Linked DNA regions of Homo sapiens: region 1 is linked to region 2. The links are contacts of gene promoters, found by promoter capture Hi-C in blood cells and fetal thymus (Javierre and others, 2016). All regions are on one chromosome and are shown on one strand. Each heading gives the region's core, a stretch centred on a gene start or on the middle of the fragment in contact. The rest is flanking DNA. Distances are from core to core; before and after follow the strand shown. Region 1 overlaps LOC100505498 (a long non-coding RNA gene). Region 2 holds the start of ARHGAP15-AS1 (ARHGAP15 antisense RNA 1).

Region 1 (5,278 bases), core at 2,732-5,231, 1.4 Mb before region 2:
AAGTCACTGCTCCATGGCAGCCGTGATATCCAGCCAGGCAAAGGTTTGATTTCTGGAAGAGGTTTCAAGACATAAGGATAATTCCATGCGGCTCTAGGCTCCGCCTTCTTAGTTCTTGGTTCTGCTTTCTGAGTCACCCTTCCTTTTTCATAAAAGGTAGCAGCTGAGTAGTTTTATCAGTATTTCCTGCCAGTAGAATTTTGGGAGTTTGACAGCCTCCTTTCACATGTACTCTGTCCTTTTTAGTCCAAGCTGGTAGCACCTTCATTGAAACAATTATCTTAAGTACTTTGTGGGTCTCCTGTGGATTTTAAAGGGGTTCATTCCATTAGACAAAAGCCAGGCCCACAGATCTTTTTGAGTAAATCCCTTCTCTTCTTTGGCATCCTGCTAAAATGACTAAAGCACACCACCATTTACTCAGTGGAACCTTTACGGTTTGACTGGGAGAATCTGTGAGGCACAGCCTTAATCTCTTGAAAGAGCCCTTTGCGTTACTGAATACCCTAACCTTTTAATCTTTCCGAGGCTTTAGTAAAAGACTGTAGAGTCACATCCTCTGCTTTCTCTCCAGAGCAAGCTTTCTTGACAGCAAATCCCTTAATTTTAATTTTTTTTTTTTTTTTTGCCATCTGGAGAGACTGAGAATTTTCAAAATCATCAAGTCCTGGTTCCTTTTTTTAGTAGTTCTGTCCTCAATTTATCTCTCTTCTCTCACATTTTACTATAATCAGCAAGAATAAACAAGGCAGCACCTTCAACACTTAGCTTGGAAATCAGCTATATGACCACATGCATCACTAACAAGTTCTGCTTTCCGTGTAACCGTAGGAGACAATTTTGCTAATTTTTCTGCCACTCTATGACAAAGATCCTTCTTCCTCCAATTTTCAATAACATGCTCATCACTTCATTTTTCAGCTCTCATTGACAGTGTCCTTAATATCCAGGTTTCTGCTAACAATCTTATCAAGACTAGGCATTTTCTTTTTACTTTATTTTTTTATTTTTATTTATTATTTATTTTATTATTATTATCATTTTTTTTTTTTTTGAGACAGAGTCTTGCTCTGTCTCCCAGGCTGGAGTGCAGTGGTGCAATCTCGGCTCACTGCAACCTCCGCCTCCAGGGTTCAAGCAATTCTCCTGCTGCAGCCTCCCGAGTAGCTGGGACTAGAGGCGCACACTGCCACTCCCGGCTAATTTTTTGTATTTTAGTAGAAACGGGGTTTCACTGGGTTGGTCAGGCTGGTCTCAAATTCCTGAGCTCAGGCAATCCGCCCACCTCCGCCTCCTAAAGTGCTGGGATTACAGTCGTGAGCCACTGCGCCCAGCCCTATCTAGGCATTTTCTATCGTGTTTCTCAAAATTTCCCCTGCCTGCACCCACAGCCTGGTTCCAAAACCACTCTGAGAGTTTAGGTATTAGTTTTCCATACTAGTAACAAATTATCACAACCTTAGTGTCCTAAAACAATGCATATGTCTTACCTCACAATTTCTGCAGGTCAGGAGTCCTGGCACAGCTTGGCAGAGTCCTCTGCTAAGGACTGCAGTCAAGGTGTTGGCTGTGACTGAGATTCTCATCTGGAGGCTTGACAGAGGAAGAATCAGCTTCCAAGTTCACTCAGATTGCTGGCAGAATTCATTTTCTTGTAGCTACAAGGCTGAGGGAGCCGGCTTCTTGCTGGCCATTTCCTGGAGGCCTCCCTCAGCTCCTTACCATCTGGGCCTCCTAACATGGCCACTTCACTTTTTCAAAGTCTATAAGAGAGACAGAAAATCTCTAGAACAAGACAGGTTATTTTATCATGTGACATAATCATGAAGTGATAAAGTGACTCCTATCACTTTTGTCATATTCTATAGATTAGAATCAAGTCAAATTTCCCACCCAAGGGGAGGGTATGATACAAAGGGATAATATAGAAAGGTGAGTGTTAGGAGCTGAAAAATGCCCGCTTCCCCACAACCCACAAATTTATATGTCAAAGCCCACTGTACCCCAGAATGTAACTGTATTTAGAGATAAGGTACTATCATCTGAATGTTTGCATACCCACAACATTCATATATTGAAACCTACTCACCAAGGTGATGATATTAGGGGGTGGGACCTTTGGGAGATGATTAGGTCATGAGGGCTCTGCTGTTGTGAATGAGATTGCTGTCCTGATAAAAGAGACCCCAGAGAGATGCCTCACCCTTTCACCTTGTGAGGACACTTGAGAAGGCATCATCTTTGAAGCAGAGTGAGCCATCACCAGACACTGACTCTGCTGGTGCCTTCATTTTGGACTTCCCAGTGTCTAGAATTATGAGCAATAAGTTTCTGATGTTTATAAATTACCCAGTCTAAGGTATTTTGTTGTATTAGCTTAATTAAACTCAGACATAAAGTCTTTAAACAGATAATTAAGTTAAAATGGGGTCACTAGGGCAGGCCCTAATGCAATGATGGGTGTTCTTACAAGAAGAAATTAAGAGACAGACAAGTGCAGAAGGAAGACCATGTGAAGACACAGAGAGAAGATGGCCATCAACAAGCCAAGGAGAGAGGCCTCAGAAGCCAACTCTGCTGACACCTTGATCTCAAACTTCTAACCTCCAGACTCATGAGAAAATAAATGTCTGTTGTTTCAGCCACCCAGTCTGTGGTACTTTGTAGGGTCATTGGGGTCACTTTTGAGTCTACTCACCACAACTGGGAATATTATTGGTGGTTTTAAGACAGTGTCCTAAGAAACTCTTGGAGTTTTTACAAGGTATTCAGAGGGCCCTCAGAAGGAGTGGGTGAGAGGAGCTAACAAATGAGACCCTAGGGTTTCCAACTCCACCTCAGTGAATGAGTTCCATTTTAATCTGTTGTATTTATTGGAATTTCTACCTAGTAAGAACTTTCCAAATTCAAAGAATCCCTATAGTCTTTTCTGATGTGTTCCATCTCAGGAATATATTGCTCTTAGAAATTTTATTGATTGTTAAAATAGCACTGAACTTGTATTTAGAGCTGACTTCTGATATCCAACCTTAGAGATTCCAGGTTTTGAACTTTGAACAAACTCCTAAACACTCTGGATTTTTGTTTCTTCAATCATAAAATTATGAGTTTGAACAAAATTATTCTAAATTTCTTTCCATCTCTTACTAAATTATAGCACTTTTCATATTTTACTTTGAATTACTTTGCTTCTACTCTTACAGCGGAAGGATAATTCTATATTATAAAAAGCTTGTTTTGCTTGATTAATAATAAGGATTTCTGAGAATTAAAAACAAAACATAGTAAAAGTACTGCATATATTTGTACTGAAAAAGAACTTGACACTATTTCTCCAGCATTAGCAAGATGTATGAGATTTGTGTTTTGGGCATTGATTACGGTTTTTATTCTGAATTATGTATCTTTGGGAAAGAAAATTAAATTAGTCATAATAGATTGGCTATTTTCATAAGTTCTATCAGTGTAGAAGTATCATAGCCAATTTTAAGAGAAAATATCTTCTATCTTAAACCTCAATAGTTTTTATCTTTGTATTTTCAGAGAATAATTTAATATTTCTGTGATGTTTCTTTGGTGTCTATAAAAGCAAGCTACAAATTAGAAAGTGAAAATAAACTTCTTTTGTTTAAATTCCAAAGACGTCATCTGTAATTTTATTGCTTTTAGCCATTTCACTCACTTGTATGGGACTTTGAATCAATGAATAATTCTTTTCCCTCACACCTGTTGTCTGAACTTTCTGCCATAGTTAAAAACTTATCATTTTGTTTTACACTGTCAAAACTCATCCAAGAAATAAAGTACACCTTTACCTTCACTCACCATAACACAGTATTTATTTCCTTTAGGCAGTAGTGGTTCAGAGTTTGAGGTTTGCATGAGGTAAAAAACTTCCAAACGTTCCTTTAATTATCTGTTGATATCTATTTTGGTTCTTTCATTTTCAGTTCCTACAATGAAGGTCCCAGAACAGAACTTACATGAATACTTAGAAGGCCAAGTTTCTAAACCTTTACCAGACTAGCAAGAGATGTTCCATTCAAATAAGTTCTCTGATGTATGGGTGACAGGCAAGAGCTAAACTGACAGTGTTTGCTGAATTCTGCAAGCCCATAGGGGGCAGGATTCCACCTGCTTGGGATCTTCTACTGGCGTAAACTCAGGGACCAGGCTTTATAAAATGAAACGGGCTGCGAGGGAACAGCCAAAGTGAAGGCAGATTGTGTGCTCAATGACCGTATGGTTTTCATTATCTTGTTCTCAAGGAAGAATTCATCCAAAGAACAACCAAATGAAAGCAATGTGTAAACCATGTCAACCCATCCTTGGATGGATGTGCCACATTTGCTCCATTATTGGTGGTGATTGTATAAAGGTGGGGAAAAGGGAGAGGAAGTGGGAAAAATGAAGGTAGTGCAAAAAGAAGGTGCAGAAGGAGCAAGAAAAAAGAAATGTCAGCCACTCAGCTGTCTCATTATGTAGCTTCCCACACTCACCAAAGATGTAATTCATCCTGCAGGTGCAAACATTGTTGGCTTTCTCATGGACTCTTGACGGATGGACCGGATGCATGTTTCCTTACCCCAGATGCTCTTTAGCAACACCAGCAATGAGATAGGGGATTGTGTGCACCTGAATCAGCACATTCACTGAGTCTTATTTGTCTTGTTTCTTAAATAACCAGTAGTGTTGTGCACAGAGCGACAACAACCAGGCAGAGGAAGCTTTTTTAAATATTAAAAAAATGGCCAATCTAAACACTTTTGTGAGTCACTTCTTAATAATTGCCTCTAAGATAAGTATGTCATTACTGCTCTGATACTCATCACCCACAGACTCACTAGTGGATGATTATCAGATCATGTGACAGCATTGGACCCTGTAATAAAATTCATGCTCATGTTTTCCACAAGATTTTCAAAAATTGAAGATGAATTTTCTACTATAAACTGAGAGAAAATTAGATTTTCAAGTTATCTGAACAGATAACATATTAGAAATGGGAAGGTTCCTGCTCTCTGAATCAGCTTCTCCTCCCCTCCCCTCCCGGCTCATTAGCTCCCACCAACTTTGAGGATTCCAAGATCCCAAACAAAACTGATTCTTTTCTGGTTGAAGTTCCATTGACTCTTGGCAAAATGTAACTTCCTGGTTCAAAGAAAAAAAGCTTGTAAAAAAAAAAGCTCACAAGGCTTCTTAGACATCAAATGGGTCTTATGAAACCACATTTTGATGAGCTAAGTGTAAATGAATCAGAAACACATGGATTAAATTT
Region 2 (5,356 bases), core at 2,584-5,083:
AAATACCTGGCTCAAAGTCACTTCCTAGCTCTATTCCCTTCGGCAATGATGTAACTTTTCTAAGCTTACATTTTCTCATCTTTGAAATATTCATTACCTTACTGCCTACATCACGGAATTGTTTGTTGCAAGATAACTACCATGTGGTAAGTTGGTAGTAAGTGTGGGATATTATGATTTTTGTTTTTGCCTCACCTCTCTTCTTCTATGACTACATAATAAATCCCTTAAGGAAAAGGCTTTGTTTTATGGGGTCTGTGCTTGTTGTCCTCATGTCTGTCCCACTGTATTGTGCATAAGTGGTGGCTAACAACTGTTTGTTGATAATGACAAGGATGCCCAGATATGCGCCGGATACTTGCTGTGTAAGAAGTTACCCTTAGCAGCACTCGCATGCAAATTTGAAACTTTTCTGGAGACCCGAAGACTTTAAACTTTTCTCATCCAAATGCTCATTTTTGTTGCTAATCTTAGTTTTCTAATGTTCCAATTTTCCTCTGTATTCTTTACCTTCTGGTTGTTACCATCTGTGTTGATTGGCCCTCCTAGTTATAGATTGTGTTTACATACAAGGGGCTGGGAAGATCTATGCTCCCCTCATGCGATGGTATTTCTGGGGCACTAATGCATGGTGCTGTGAAACACGTCTTTGGCTGAGCTAGCCAGTTCAAAAGCCAGCTTCACAGCGGAATTTCACACATGCAAATGAACCATTGTGATCTTAGTCATGAAAATTCATGGAATAGTGGCTAGTTCAGTGTGGATGACCTGTCAATTTGGCAGCCAATCAGTTGGTTAAACATCCAAATTACTGGCCAGTTACTCAGTCTAATGCTAGTCTTCCTGCTTGTTACTGGGTTCTATGTAATCCTATTAAAAGCAATGACATTCTCTTTGATTTGTGGCAGCTAATGGTGTAGAAGTACCACGCAGGCACAGGACATGTGTCTGGCACAGTTTTCACTTGGGCATTGTGAAAATGGACCACTTGTGTTACTGTTGGATTTATTCTTAAAACTCTAAATATCCTCTGTTGAATAACAGGCAAAGTATCTTAATTTCATGGGTGCACCCTATTTATTATTTTTATCAATTATAAATGGGAATTGCTCTAAGGATTGAATATTTTTTTTTTGATATGTACTAATTGATTTTGTTGGATCTATAGTTAGCTCCTTGGACTTGGTTGTACTGTCAGGCAGTTGGACAGAAAGCCGTGGAGACTCCTCATGGCCTGTTAGAACTTGGGATTTGATTGACAGTGACCCATCTACAGTTCAATTTAGACAAAAGATAGCAGTATTGATAGGCTGGGAAATGGATCTAGAACAGTAATTCCTAGTTACAGACCTCTTTGAGAATATGATGAAAACTCCAGACTTGGACTCCAGAAAAATGTGCCAAAAATCTAGCATGAAGGTTTTGAGATTTCCTGCATCTGTTGAAGTCCAGGGGTCCAGGGACCCACGAAACCTATGTTAAAATTCCTGTACTGAATGTCAGGGTATGGAGTGGGAATAAAGAGACACAGAGAAACAGAGAAGGAGGCACCAAGATAGAAAAAGATAAAAGAGCCACGGAAGAGAGTAGACTCGGAAGTAGAGAGAGACTGAGAGGCTGAAAGTAGATGTAACTGCAGTTCTCTTAGCCGAACATAATCTCGCAATGCTATACATAATTAGGTTCTAATAAACACTTTCTTATGTCCAGAATCTTGAGTTATTCTGTCAAATAAAAATCTCCCATATGAAAGACATGATATATCTTTCACCTGAGGATTTTTGACAGTGTTGAAAAAACATACAGGAACAAGCATTTCATTTTAAAGGCAAGCATGAAGATTTTTAAAAGAACAGTGTAAGTTAAAGGGTCAGTTGGCTTGTAAATGCAAAAGCTTTTGTGTTTACTGAAGGCCATTGGTAGAAAAATTGTAAAAATAATACTGATTGGGAAGCATCAGTCATACTTTTTTTCAAAGAGTTTTTAATATATAGTATTGTATTTTATTTTCACAACAACCCTTTTTGTTAGGTAGGGCAAAAACTGCCATATGTGTTTTGAACATGAAGAAATTGAGACATGTGTATGGAGACTTATCTGGAATGATGAATACTCCAGGAAAAAGTGAATTCTGGAAACCAGATTTCCCAGCTCTGATTCTCAGGTGAATCCATATATCCCTGTTAGATATTAACACCCACATAGCCAGTGTATATTACAAATATAGTGTCTTCTTGTTTCTTAAAATGAAATAAAATTGACGAATTGGAACATGAATTAAAAATAGTGTTCTTGAAATGGGACAAAATAACAGGATCGTAGAACTTTAGAATGTAGGAGACCCTAGACATGAATAATCTCACCTACTTGTTAAGGTCCTTGTTGAGGACAAGGACTTGTCCCAGAGGGCTTGAGATTTGAACAAGACCTGGTGAGTGGAGACATATGGGAGAGACACTAACAGCAGAATGAAATAAGGACTTGCTCTCAACTCTGCTTTTTTTCCCACTCCCACCCAGGGGAAGAAGCAGGATTTAAAAGCATCTATTCTATGTTTTATATAACTTAGATGGAATGTCTTGATAATAATTTTGAAAAATCAGGTGTGAATCAAATCCAGTTCTCTTCTCAGACTATACCTGGGAACTTTAAAATTCCAGTGTTTTCTCAGAAGTTGTCTGTATAGGATAATGTAAAATTCTTTACATTCTGTTGGCCTGGGAAATTTTACATGGCTAAGAAAATATAGTAGAATAATTGCTCTGCTTCTCAGACTATAGTAGAGATTCCTAGGTTAGCATAGGTAATTCATGTTTCAAGGATGAATATGGTCATATATATCCATACATGCCCATATTCAATTATTCATGATTGTGGTATATATATATATACACACACACACATGCATACACACACATACATATGATATATAGATATATAATTGTGAGCATTTATAAAAGCATTAGGTCTGCAGGATATTTAAACACTCTTCATTTGTAACTTGCATTTTAGGGGGAATTATTTAGCTATGCGAGATATCACCATATTCAGTTTTTTTAATATAATAAACATGTCTAGTCAAAGAAGGCATTAATGAAGCAATTCCCCAAATAAAACAGCCCATGATATCTGAGTTGCAGCAGAGAGAGAGTGTGGTCTTTGTAGTTTAATCAAGATCACAAGACTTGTTTTGAGCGTCTGTCATCTTTAATTTTACGGCACTTCATTTCAGAGTAGGACTGCCAGGGTCACATGCAATTAAAACACAGGCAAGACTTGTCTTGTGAAATCTTAACATAAAAAGTAATGTGTTACTCCATTTTAACTTTTCTACTGAACTCCGTGAACTCACTAATTACTTTTCCCCCCTCTTGTCACCTTTTTGATATGACATGTATTTTATAGAGGAGATAGAAATTTGGATTTTTTTAATATCATGCATATGATTGAGGATAACAAAATTAAACCAGAGAAAAAAGGAATGCGTTTTTCAGAAATACATTTTTTAGTAATATCTGAGTACTCCAGCTTCAATTACAAAGAACCTCATAGATCAAATTCTAGGAAATAACTGTTAATCTGCTTAACTAGGGCAGGTAGAAGTGTAATAACGGACCAGAGATTTTACAGAGGCCAGGATCGTGAACCGGAGTTTATTCTCTGGGGTGCGGGCAAAAGCGCTTTTATGTGATTGGCTGAGAAAAGCATTAAAAGCCAGCGCCTACGTGGAGATTTGGAGCACAAGGAGGGTTGTTGCATCATAGTGATCAGTAAATTGCATAGACCCTTATTAACCTTATTGATAAGGAGCTTAGGGAAGACCCAGGCAGGGCGCAATATATTCTTCTTTTTGTTCTCCTGTCTGTCTCCGTTTGCAATCCCAGCCGCTTTGTATGGAGAGCTTTTACGCAGCACCTGAAAATTCAATGTGAGTAGCTGCGCCTTTAAGTTAGAGCCAGGGAATGGAGCGGGAGCCAGCCCATGCACAGGGGGTTCAGGGCCTATTTAACTGGTGCTGGGGACACCTGGAGAATGTTTGAAAATTTTGTGCTTAAAGAATCTTTTATATTACTCCTCTTTCAATGCAGCTGGGGTCTGTAGGGATCAGGGGATTATTTTTGATACCTGTCGAAAAGAGTTATGTCTACACTGATTTTCCATCCCTCACTACTAATTAACCTTATTGTATACAGGAAACAGTGTATTTAATACCTGCATTCTTTCTGTAATGCCAAGTAAAATGAAATCCAGTGTGAAATCTAGTTAGCGTTTGCCTTTTTGAAGTCATTTTTAAGTTTCCAGTTTTAGTGACTGTGACCTCAGAACTGATAGCTAGAAAAATAGTGAGCTCAAACCAATTTTGGTTTCAATTGTATTCCTCACTCCTTCCAACTTTAAAAGCTGCCTTTCACCTGGTCTGGTGAGGAGAATGGAGGAATGGAACATCCCGAGCTGGACCACGTTTCTCTGGAGTCTTCCATGTTGGCCTCTGCCTGTGGTTGTGAGGTTTCCCTTTAGGCCGGCCCCATAGGCCGGCCCCTACTCCATTAACCTGGTTTCTCTCCTTGGCAGTTGAACACCTGTGTCCCCTTCTTTTCAATCTGGGAGGCTGAAATTTGACAGACACATCATGGCAAAGTTGTGCAGCAGCGATACAAGTAGATGCTGAAGAAAAGGGAGGAATCTGAGCGCAGGATAAAATGCTCAAGAAAATCCCATTGGTGGAATGTTTGTGAGAGAAAAAAAAGGTAGGGTCTAGCAAGAAAGAGCAGAAATTAAACTGTGTAAAATGTCACCAAATGATGTGGAAAAATCCACATGTCTTCAAGTATGCTGCACAATATGGACTTAGAACACATTTTGCGAGTGATGTGAGAATGGTTAGCACAATGGTTACATTCCTGCTCTTAAAATTCCAGTGTGTGTGTGCATGTGTGTGTGTGTGTGCATGTGTGTCAAGTAAACTTGTTAGCGAAAATAGTGCCAGAGGAAAGTGAGGATTTTCAGGCCACTGCCTTGTATTTTCCAGATTCCTTGGCTTTTGAGATTTTCATATGTTGGTCAGAATGCCTATGCCTTATAACATTTGTCTGACATGTAAACCACACATTGATAAGTGGAGAGAAGGTTAGTGGAAGATGCTGCTGGGTGTCACAGATGCCTAAGACCCCCTCCTCCTCCCAGCTGACTTGAACCGGGACATCAAAATTTGCTGTCAGACTTGCATGGGTTAGATTGGTGAATCTTACCATCTCTCCACTGCTTCTGTGATTTAGTAAGCATTTCTTAGGGACTTGCACTTCAAGAGAGGTAGCTGAAGGAATGTCTGTTTGATGGCCCTTGTTTAGGTGGGACT

What was found. Contacts are between HindIII fragments. The CHiCAGO score rates a contact against its expected background, and 5 or more counts as called.
Region 1: a contact is called between a fragment that was not itself captured here and the fragment with the promoter of ARHGAP15-AS1 in region 2, in 1 of 17 cell types (neutrophils). The highest score is 6.1, in neutrophils.

Annotation. Positions count from the first base shown.
Region 1 is chr2:145,185,353-145,190,630 of GRCh38, reverse strand. It overlaps LOC100505498 (a long non-coding RNA gene), which reads right to left. Exons shown (of 8, transcript XR_923410.3): 5 at 3,826-5,278; 6 at 1,491-1,763. Among named protein-coding and RNA genes, the nearest start is that of LINC01966, 310 kb to the right of the region's middle. The HindIII fragment of the contact is 1,496 bases long and covers 3,234-4,729 here.
Region 2 is chr2:143,774,575-143,779,930 of GRCh38, reverse strand. ARHGAP15-AS1 (ARHGAP15 antisense RNA 1) reads left to right here and starts at 3,833. Exons shown (of 8, transcript XR_007087251.1): 1 at 3,833-3,928; 2 at 4,573-4,748. RefSeq lists an enhancer at 1-437. The HindIII fragment of the contact is 5,908 bases long and covers 1,897-5,356 here.